3 separate regions of the Homo sapiens genome follow, and regions 2 and 3 are each linked to region 1. Evidence: promoter capture Hi-C in human tissues and cell types (Jung and others, 2019). All regions are on one chromosome and are shown on one strand. The core of a region is centred on a gene start or on the middle of the fragment in contact, and the rest is flanking DNA. Distances in the headings are between cores, read along the strand shown. Region 1 holds the start of DRD2 (dopamine receptor D2). Region 2 has its middle 39 kb from the start of DRD2. Region 3 has its middle 63 kb from the start of DRD2.

Evidence for each region. Contacts are between HindIII fragments. The study calls those that stand out against the background at their distance.
Region 2: a contact is called between a fragment that was not itself captured here and the fragment with the promoter of DRD2 in region 1, in 6 of the 25 tissues and cell types used here (H1 embryonic stem cells, aorta, bladder and 3 more).
Region 3: a fragment that was not itself captured here is called in contact with the fragment with the promoter of DRD2 in region 1 in 1 of the 25 tissues and cell types used here (bladder).

Annotation. Positions count from the first base shown.
Region 1 is chr11:113,473,977-113,476,870 of GRCh38, reverse strand. It overlaps DRD2 (dopamine receptor D2), which reads left to right and starts at 1,473. Exons shown (of 8, transcript NM_000795.4): 1 at 1,473-1,795. It overlaps LOC105369501 (a long non-coding RNA gene), which reads left to right. Exons shown (of 6, transcript XR_948024.2): 6 at 1,018-1,342. The HindIII fragment of the contact is 27,627 bases long and covers 1-2,894 here.
Region 2 is chr11:113,513,386-113,516,408 of GRCh38, reverse strand. No RefSeq gene overlaps it. Among named protein-coding and RNA genes, the nearest start is that of DRD2, 39 kb to the right of the region's middle. The HindIII fragment of the contact is 5,554 bases long and covers 1-3,023 here.
Region 3 is chr11:113,537,261-113,540,254 of GRCh38, reverse strand. No RefSeq gene overlaps it. Among named protein-coding and RNA genes, the nearest start is that of DRD2, 63 kb to the right of the region's middle. The HindIII fragment of the contact is 8,667 bases long and covers 1-2,994 here.

The DNA.
Region 1 (2,894 bases), core at 224-2,723:
CTCCCTATAGAGCCTGCAGGCAAATGGAGGCCAGTCCAGATCAGCAAGATCCAGGGGCAGGAGCTGGGAAGAGTCATGGTGGGGTGAGGTGGGGAGCCCACAGCTTCCTCTGCTCCCGTGCCTCCAGAGATGGCTGCATTTGAGAGAGGTGCTGTTTTGTGCCTCTGGAGAGGGGGACGGTTCAGTGCTGGACTCTGTGGGATTTGCAAGGACACTCCATCTCTCTGGGACTCAGTTCTCCCTTCTGAGGTGAGGCGGAATTGGATGAATGTTAAGGTCCTTTCCAGCCCTCACTTTCTATAATTGTGTGTGTCATTGGAGGAAATGCTGAGATGAAGTTAATCCTTGTGGCCCAGAGAGGCTGGATTCCAGCCATGCAGGGCCGACTCCCTGCTCTGCAGAGTCAGTCCTCTGCCCCTGCTCTTCCCTCTCCCTGGAGTGTTGTGCCACCTTCTCCCCTTGGGAACTGGTGTTGCTCCTTCAATGCCCGGTTCCTGTAAAGTCTCGCTTTTTTGTGCTTCACAGCACCTGTTTAAGCCTCAGTTATTTCCCTGGGGGTCCCCTCTCTGGATTGCCAGGGTGCGGGATCAGGGGCCTGGTTTTCTTTCTGTGTGTGACTTCTGAATCTGACACAGAATCTGGCAAACTGAGGACAGTTGGTAACTAATTGCTGCAGAAGAAAGAAAAGAAAGAGAAAGAAAGAAAAAGAAAGGAAGGAAGAAAGAAAGAAAGAAAGGAAAGAAAGAAAGAGAAAGAAAGAAAGAAAGAAAGAAAGAAAGAAAGAAAGAAAGAAAGAAAGAAAGAAAAGAAAAGAAAAGAAAGAAAAGGAGAGAGGAAGAAAAGGGGAGAAGAACGAGGTTCCTCTGCAGCCCAAATGACAGTGGGCAGGGTAGCAGCGGAACACCCTTCACCACTCTATCTCTTTCTCCCTCTCCCCACTCCCTGCCTCACACACCTCAGTTTGGAGTCAAGGGTGAGCTGGAACCCCTGAGGCCTCCTTTTGCATTTCCATGTCAGGTCAACTCCAAACAGGCTTTTTCCTTTGGATGAGTCCAGCAATAGAACTGACTACATAGATTCCAAGACCTGAAGTCAGAAAACGGATGCGGACCTCTTCCAACACCTCCTCTCCTTGCCTGACTTGCTGGATGGGTGGTGCCTCCCGCAACCCTTGGCTTCTGAGTCCTCAAAGGAGAAGACTGGCGAGCAGACGGTGAGGACCCAGCCTGCAATCACAGCTTATTACTCTGGGTGTGGGTGGGAGCGCAGTGGGCGGTCGAGGGTTGCGTTCCCGCCTCAAAACAAGGGATGGCGGAATCCCCCAACCCCTCCTACCCGTTCAGGCCGGGGATCGCCGAGGAGGTACAGCTCCTTTGGTGGGGGGCGGGGGCGGGGCCTGTCTCAGGGGCGGGGACCGGGGCACCTCCCTCCCGCGCTCCCCGCGCTCGGGCGCCGCAGAGCTGTCCAGCTTCAGTGCCGAACCGGCAGCCTCACGCGCGCACCGCGCCGCCTCCGCCCCGTCCCCGCGCTCCCTCCTGCCCGCCCGCCCCGCGCCCGGCCCCGCCCCGCCCCGCCCCGCCGCGGCCCGTCCACTGCTCCCCGCGGGCCAGAGCCGGCCGAGCTGCTGCCCGCCGGGGCTCTGAACGGCGCGGCGGGGCCGGGAGCCAGGGACCGGCCGAGGAGAGTGGCGGCCCCGGACGGCTGCCGGAGGGGCGGCCGCGCGTGGATGCGGCGGGAGCTGGAAGCCTCAAGCAGCCGGCGCCGTCTCTGCCCCCGGGCGCCCTATGGCTTGAAGGTAAGCACCGGCCGGATGGAGCGGCGGGCGACTCAGTGTCACGGGGAGAGGAGGAGGGACCTCCAAGGGGAGCGAGGCCAGGACCAGAAGTTTGTGCGGCCACTCCTGGCCGCCTGCTCGGGAGCGCCCGCCTGGGATCCGGCTCTGCATGGGCTCCCCGTCGGGCGGGGGCAGAGGGCGTCTGGAGCCCGCGGCTGCTATCCCCTCTCCCTCCTTCTCAGTAGCCTCCTCGCCACTTAGAAGGGAATCCTCTCCCCGAGCACGAGCGGGCGCAGCTGGGGCAGCCTCCCCGCGGGGCGCCCAGGGCAGCACGGCGGAGCCGCGGCATCGGAGGGCGGGAGGGAGGCCGCTCCCCACAATCTCGGGAGGGCACTTCCCCCAGCACCCAAGCGCGAGACCCGGGGCTCGCGGCCAGAGTTTCCGACTTCTTCCGGAGGAAGAAGGGCTGTTTTTGGCAACTCTGTGTTGGTGCGACCTGACCCTTTTCAGTTTCTAAGGCAGAAGCTAAGGATGGGGGAGAGGCAGATTCTGGCTGGATTCTCCCGCTCCCACGGTTGCCGCTGTCCTTGGTCCTGAACTTTCGTTCTCCTTCGCCTTCTCTTGGGTTGACACCTAGTCGGGGAGGGAGGCTTGGGTGCCAGACCCGTTTCTACCCGGCAGTGCAGGCGACGGTGGCGGCAGTAGCGGAGGGTGACCGCCCGGCTCTCGGCCCGGCTCTATGATGGACCGAGAGCCCCTCTAGGGTGGTATGCGGAGACAAGAGACACCTCTAAGCACCAGACAGAGCGCTTCCCTATCCCTGTCTGAGGCGGGCAGCCCTTGAGTGCTTCCTCTTGAAGAGCAGAGGTAAGAGGGTGCGTGTGCGTCTACATAACAGGCTTCACCATGGACACAAGTCACAGCAGTGCAGCTCCGTGGGGACAGGCGCTTGCTCTCAGCCACAAGGAAGCTGTCTGAGCAAGTCACTGTTGCCCCACCTGACACCCCACTACTTTTTTTTCGGTGGCTCTTGAGGTTGGGTGAGGGGGTGAGGGAGTGAGGTGCAAGGCACTTTGTGGATCCCACTCCAGATCCTTCTGCAGATCCAAGCCTTTCTGTA
Region 2 (3,023 bases), core at 427-2,926, 39 kb before region 1:
CCCTTCCAAAGTCAGAGCTAGAAAGTGACTGTGCTGAGATCCAGAGCTCATCTATGCATTCACAGTTCCACCAGGCTGTGCACTCAATACTGAACTGAACCTTGGACACATGCTTTCTGAATTCTGGTCTGGGATCCTTCTTTCCCTAATCCTGCTCCCACCTCTCACTAGGATCAGGGCTCTGGTTTCCAAGGATTTGGGGAAGAGGAATGATTACCTTGCCCAGGTGAATGGGCAGTGGAAATGAGAAGAGAGAGCAGGAGGGAGGGCAGAGTGGAGAAGAGGACCAGGTAGAGAGAAGAGAGCTTGCTAAGGCCTGAGAGGTGAATCAGGATGACAGAGCTCCTGTGCTGGGGACCTGGGGTCTTTCAGAGTCCTGCTCAGTGCTGTTGCACTATTTCTCACCAGGTGGTCTCTAGGAGGCTCCAGCCCCCTCATTCTGATCCTAAGGTCCCATGATGGCTCTTGGTCTGTTATAGCTGCCTTATACCTTAGGCCAAGGGGAGCCTCCGTAGCCCTTTGGGGCTGGATGGAGGCAACAAAATGAGCACTTAGTCCATGTGGTATGAATCCCACCTGTGGTCGTCCTGCCCTCAAACATATGCCCAGGTGTGGACAAACCAATTCCAGAAGCCCCATAGCATAGCACTCTGGCACCCCTTGTCCCTGAAGAGATGGAGTCCAGGACAGGCAAGGTGGAAGGAGAGAAGAGAGAAGGCCCCATCAGGAGGCAGGGGTGGCCAGGGGTGATGTGCAGTGCAATAGAGCATATCTGACCATGTGACATCCCTCTCCATTCTTTCAGTGGCTCTCATTGCTGACAGGCTGAAGAATCAGCCCCTTAAGTGCCTTACAAGGGTGCTGTAGCTAACTCCTACCCATCCTGGTCACCTCCAGGCCAGGTGATGTGCCCACACTTCGACTCCATCCCAGCAGACTTTATCCCAAATATCTGATTGTGCATCTGTCTCCAACAGTCACTGGATTCTGAGGTCCTCCAGGGCACCGAGCCCAGGCCTTTACACAGGTGCCTTGTGACCAGTTGGTGTTTAAGGAATATTTGCTGAGCAAATGAATGAATGCGAGCTGTGTGGATATTTCTCAGGGCACTGAGCAATATCTGGGCCAGGCTCAGAGTAGCATGCACATCACTCTGGCCACTTCTTCCAGATGGATGGCAGTCCTCTGCTTCCCAGTGTGAGCCCATGACTTCTCCCTCCCCTTTCAGAGTCCATAATTAATGTGGCACCTTCAGTAATAAACATGTGCTTGTGGGCTCCAATCTTTCTCATTAGAGCCTGGGCAGATTGCTCACCTTTTCCTGGTGATGATGAATGACTCACCTTGCCCAGCACACGGCCCTGTCCTGTCCTGGGTGAAAGTGCTCCCATGCTTCCCGGATCTGACACTCACTAGCACTGACACAGAGCCCCCACATTGGATGGATGTAGGCCCAAAGTTGGTGTCCTCAGGTGGACAGTGGTCCAGGTAGTGCCCCAGTCCTAGCCTCAACCTTCAGCTTGATGTTCAAGGCCCTCCCAGACCTGGTCCCTGTCTACCTGGTTGGACCCTTTGTCACTGAACCTTCTCTGTGCGGTGCATTCCTGCCTCTTCAGGAGTTTGTTCATGCAGTTCCCCCTCATTGATACCTCTTTCTTTTATGCCTTTCTGAAACTCACTCATGAAAGAGCCTATAAAAGTGACACCTCCTCCATGAAGTCTTCCCTGACCTTCCCAGTGCAGAATTCCCATGTCTTCCTTTTACACTTGGCATAGGATGTCTTCTTGCCCCAGGAGCTCTGTCACTAACTGCGTATCACTTTCCCTACTTGTGTCTCAGATTCCTTGTCTTTACAGGAAAAAAAATCACTCCACAGACTTCTTGTGAAGTTTAAATGACCTTCATTCATTCAACATTTGCAAACATTAATTCTGTATTTCCTTCAAAACACGCAAAATGATGTGCAGAGGCCACAATGATGAAGAAAACATAGCTTCACCCTCAAGTAGTGTGCAGTCCAGTGAAAAATAATCTAAGTAATAATAATAATAAAAGCTTCACATTTTTGCTTTCCAGGGCATATCAAGCCAAATACTTTACATACAGACAGATACAGAGGAGATTATAATCCCAAGTAATAACGTGCTTTGACATTGGACAAACTCTCAGATAAACTGAATGTGATACTATCGCTACTCATCATAAATGTCTGTCGGTCTTGGCTCCCCATTTAGGCCATGAGCTCCGTAAGTCAGAGCAGGAATCATCCTTCTTTGTAACTTCCATGATACCTTCAGCAAATTATGTTTCAATCCATGATTATTTGCTGATCGGTTAATCTCCTAGGACCAGGAGGACTGGAGGAGATGCTGCCCTGTCCAGAGGTAAAGGCCATTGGACACCTGGTCAACAGGACCTGCCAAAGGTCACTCCTTCCAGCTCCAGCCAACAGATGAGGACCAGTTGTCCTTCCTTGAAAGGCTTCAGAATAAGAGCATCAGAAGACCTGGTCTCAGGTCTCAACCCTGGAACTTCCCCATCTTCAAGCTTCAATTTCTACCTCTGCAAAATCTGAACAATATCTCCTGTCTTGCCTCACTTAAGGATCAGTATGACAATCAAAGAAGGTGATGGATTTTACCACCTGCATCATGAGAAATAGAGCTTGAGGGGTCATTATCCCTTGCATTTTCAAGATAAACCTTTAGGTTTTGAGTTTTAAAGAGGTTTTACTAAACTTAGGATGGAAATTCAGCCCAAGTGGCCCCTGGGCAGACAAGAGATATGGGGACACCAGGATTGCCTGGCATCATCACCTGGCCCCAAATGGGCACAAGTCTTTTTGTGAGTCTGTCTTCACTCTGTCACTCATGGCAGGTGCTGCAGGAGGTGAAGATGGGAAGGGTAAACTCCTGTCACACTGGGCAGGAGAAAGGGCAGGCTATCACAGTGTCCGACCTGGGCAGGATGCTCCCTAGGGCTTAGCCAGCCTCCAGGTCACTTCACAAAATGTCACTGCACC
Region 3 (2,994 bases), core at 178-2,677, 63 kb before region 1:
TGCTTCTCTGCTTCTCCTCTGGGTGAAGACCCAAGATGTGCATTCTGGCCTCATGGTGACGTGTGTATCTCTCTGCAGCCGTCCTAGATCTCTTGGGTTGACCCATGCTTTTGCTGTGGGCATAGTAGCCTTATAGAAGTAGGCCTTGGGCTTCCAGCTGTTCTCCTCTGAGCAGCAGACATTGTTTCTCCTGGAGATGTCTTTGACTCCGGATCCTCTTTTCTCCCTGCCTGCAGCATATTCACTAGCTGGGCTTGTGGATGATGTTTTCTTCTTGTCATTTGGATGAAATCTGACTTCTTCCCCTCCTACTATAAGCAGTGCCTGACCCAGCCACATCCACAGCCCTGAAATGAAAGATGTCCACTTTCCAGGCGGAATCTTGGGCATGCTACATAACTTTTTTGAATTTTTCTTTCCTTATCTGTAAGATGGAGATGATAACACCAGCCTCCTAAAGTTTTGTGGAGTCCAAAGAGATAGTCAATGTACAGGACCTGGCAAAAAGGGAGGGAAAGAGAGATGTAGTTATCATGATTAAAACTTGCAGCCCTGGCACCTGCTGAGCTCCTGACCTGGCTAGTAGAGGTTTCAGGACTTTCAAAAACAAGCCTGAGTTTCAGCCTATCCTCAGGGGGTGGGCACTACAAGTGCCAATCCAGGCAGGTAGTGTGGGGCAGGGCGAGGACATTAGGCTGAGTGTCAGGGCCTGGGTTTGGGGCTGACTTTGGGTGATCTTAACCAAGTGTCTCCCTTTTCAGCCTTGCTATGATGTATTTTCTGGTTCGTGCGGTCTGAAAACTATAGGGAGCTGGGGAGATGCTTCCAAAGAGAGAAAAAGGAGATGCCCAGGTTAGCTTAATGAGTGAGGGCTATAGGCAATGCATGCATTGACCCAACTGTGAGTTTAACTGTGAGCAGATGCAGGGTTTGCTGGATCCATGAAACCAACTCCAAGAAATCTCCAGGGCTGAATCCCTGTTGGCAGCCTTAGCGACGCTGCTTTTCAAAGCTACTGAGGTGAAAAGGGTTCTTTGCTTTGGTCATGATGGAAGCCCTGGGGCGGTGACAGCTATGAAATGTCCCATAGGCATGAGGGAGAGAGGCTGGTCTGGTCTGTCTGGGATGGCCCAGGCTGCTTCTGTGCCCCCTCTGCTGTCACAAGCAATGAGCCTGCTTCTCTTGCTTGTCCACACAGCTCTCTGGGTCCACAGAAAGAAGAGTGTGAGCGAGTCGGGGTAAGCCTTAGTGAAAGCCAGGGGCTGCTGGTGACAGGCTGGACCACCTTAGAGAGGCATCTAACCTCCAAGTCCCATTGTTTTCCTCTTTTGGGAACCAGAGATAAAGGTGGTGTGATCATCTTTGCCTGGCCAGAATGAGGGAAAATCATTGAGAAAGTGATTTTCTCACTTGGAGGAAAAGATGTGTGATGGTGGCATAACTCCTGGCCAAACACCACCCACATTCATTGCAGGGAGAGGTGGCCTGAGATATCTATTTACTTTCTAATTCAGGCTTTAATTTAGCAAGCAATTGTTGCCTTTTGTGAGCAAAGCACTCCTTGCTTGGGAGTCCAAAAATGAATAGAATCTGGTGCCTGCCTCCTGGGGCTCACATTGTAAGTCCCCACTCTCTTCCCTTTGTGTAAACAATACCAGCTCTACCTACCATCCATCACATGAAACAGTCTGAGCTCTTCCCAGCACTCTGGTTGAATTCCAATCTTCCAGAAATGTCATGAATTTTAAGCTCATTTAATCCTCATACAACACTGTCTGGAGTGGTGTTTTAAGTACCGTTTTGCAGGTGAGGGCACTGAGGCTCCGAGATGTCCATAATAGGGGCAGAGCATGTACACCCTGAGAGGACCTGTGGGCTTCCCAGAGGAGGTGACACTTGCCTGGATTTTCATGCATGGGTTGGAGGTCACTGGAAGGACAAGAGGGGCAGGGGCACATCAGGAAGAGGGAACATCTTACTCAAAAGCTCAGAGATCAGAAATAAATACTGTGCCATGGAAATAGCCAGCAGCTAATTTTCAAGTTTAGAAAAGCTAAGAAGGTCCCTGTATACCAGGCAAAAGAGTTGTGTCTTTAAGCTGGGGCAATGCTGAGTGTGCATGTGTTTGTATGCATGTATGTGTGTGCATGTGCGTATCTGTGTACCTGTGGTGGCATTTGCTCTGGGAAGAATCATCGTGGATTTTATCTTCCCTTTAATGGTAGGCAGATAATACGGAGGCAGGTGGGGCTGGAGGTAGACAGACCAGATGAGAGGTTATCGCAACTGTCTAGTAATATTAATCAATATTTACTGAGTACTTATCCCGTGCCAGGTACAGTGCTAAATACTTTGCAAGGATTATCTCATAAATCTTGTATCAACCTCTGAGGCAGCTGTCACTATTATGCCCACATTACATACAAAGAAACTGAAATTTCAACAGGTTTAATAACTTGCCCAGGATTGCACAGCATAAGCTATGAGCATAAACTGAGATTTGAACACAGCTTTCTCTGACCAGATTCCAAATCCCTGACCATGATTACCTAGTATGACAAGGGCTTACATTTACGCAGGGATGGTGGGATTGAAAGTAGAGGAAATACCTGATAAATATTTAGGAGGTAAAACCAGTGAATTTGGTGAGCAAATTGGTCCCAGGAACGAATGAGAGGAAGATGCTTTCAGCCTGGGTGACTATGGAGCCTGGAGAAACATAGATGTTATAGAAAAGACATTGCTTTTGTGATCTCAGGTTTACCTGATGCAGGTATAACAGGATCTGGACTCTGCTCTTCAACACATGAACGGCCCCTCCTTATTCAATTTATAACTGATCAGCAATTCATCTATGGGGAGGTGAGAGCCCTGCCTAGGACTCCAGGGTCCTCACCCCAAGTATTGATCCAGTTAAATTGATCTAGTGATTGTTCTCCTTGGATGTGGTCATTCTGCCAGTTATAAAGCCCCTGACTGTATGATCATCTGAGT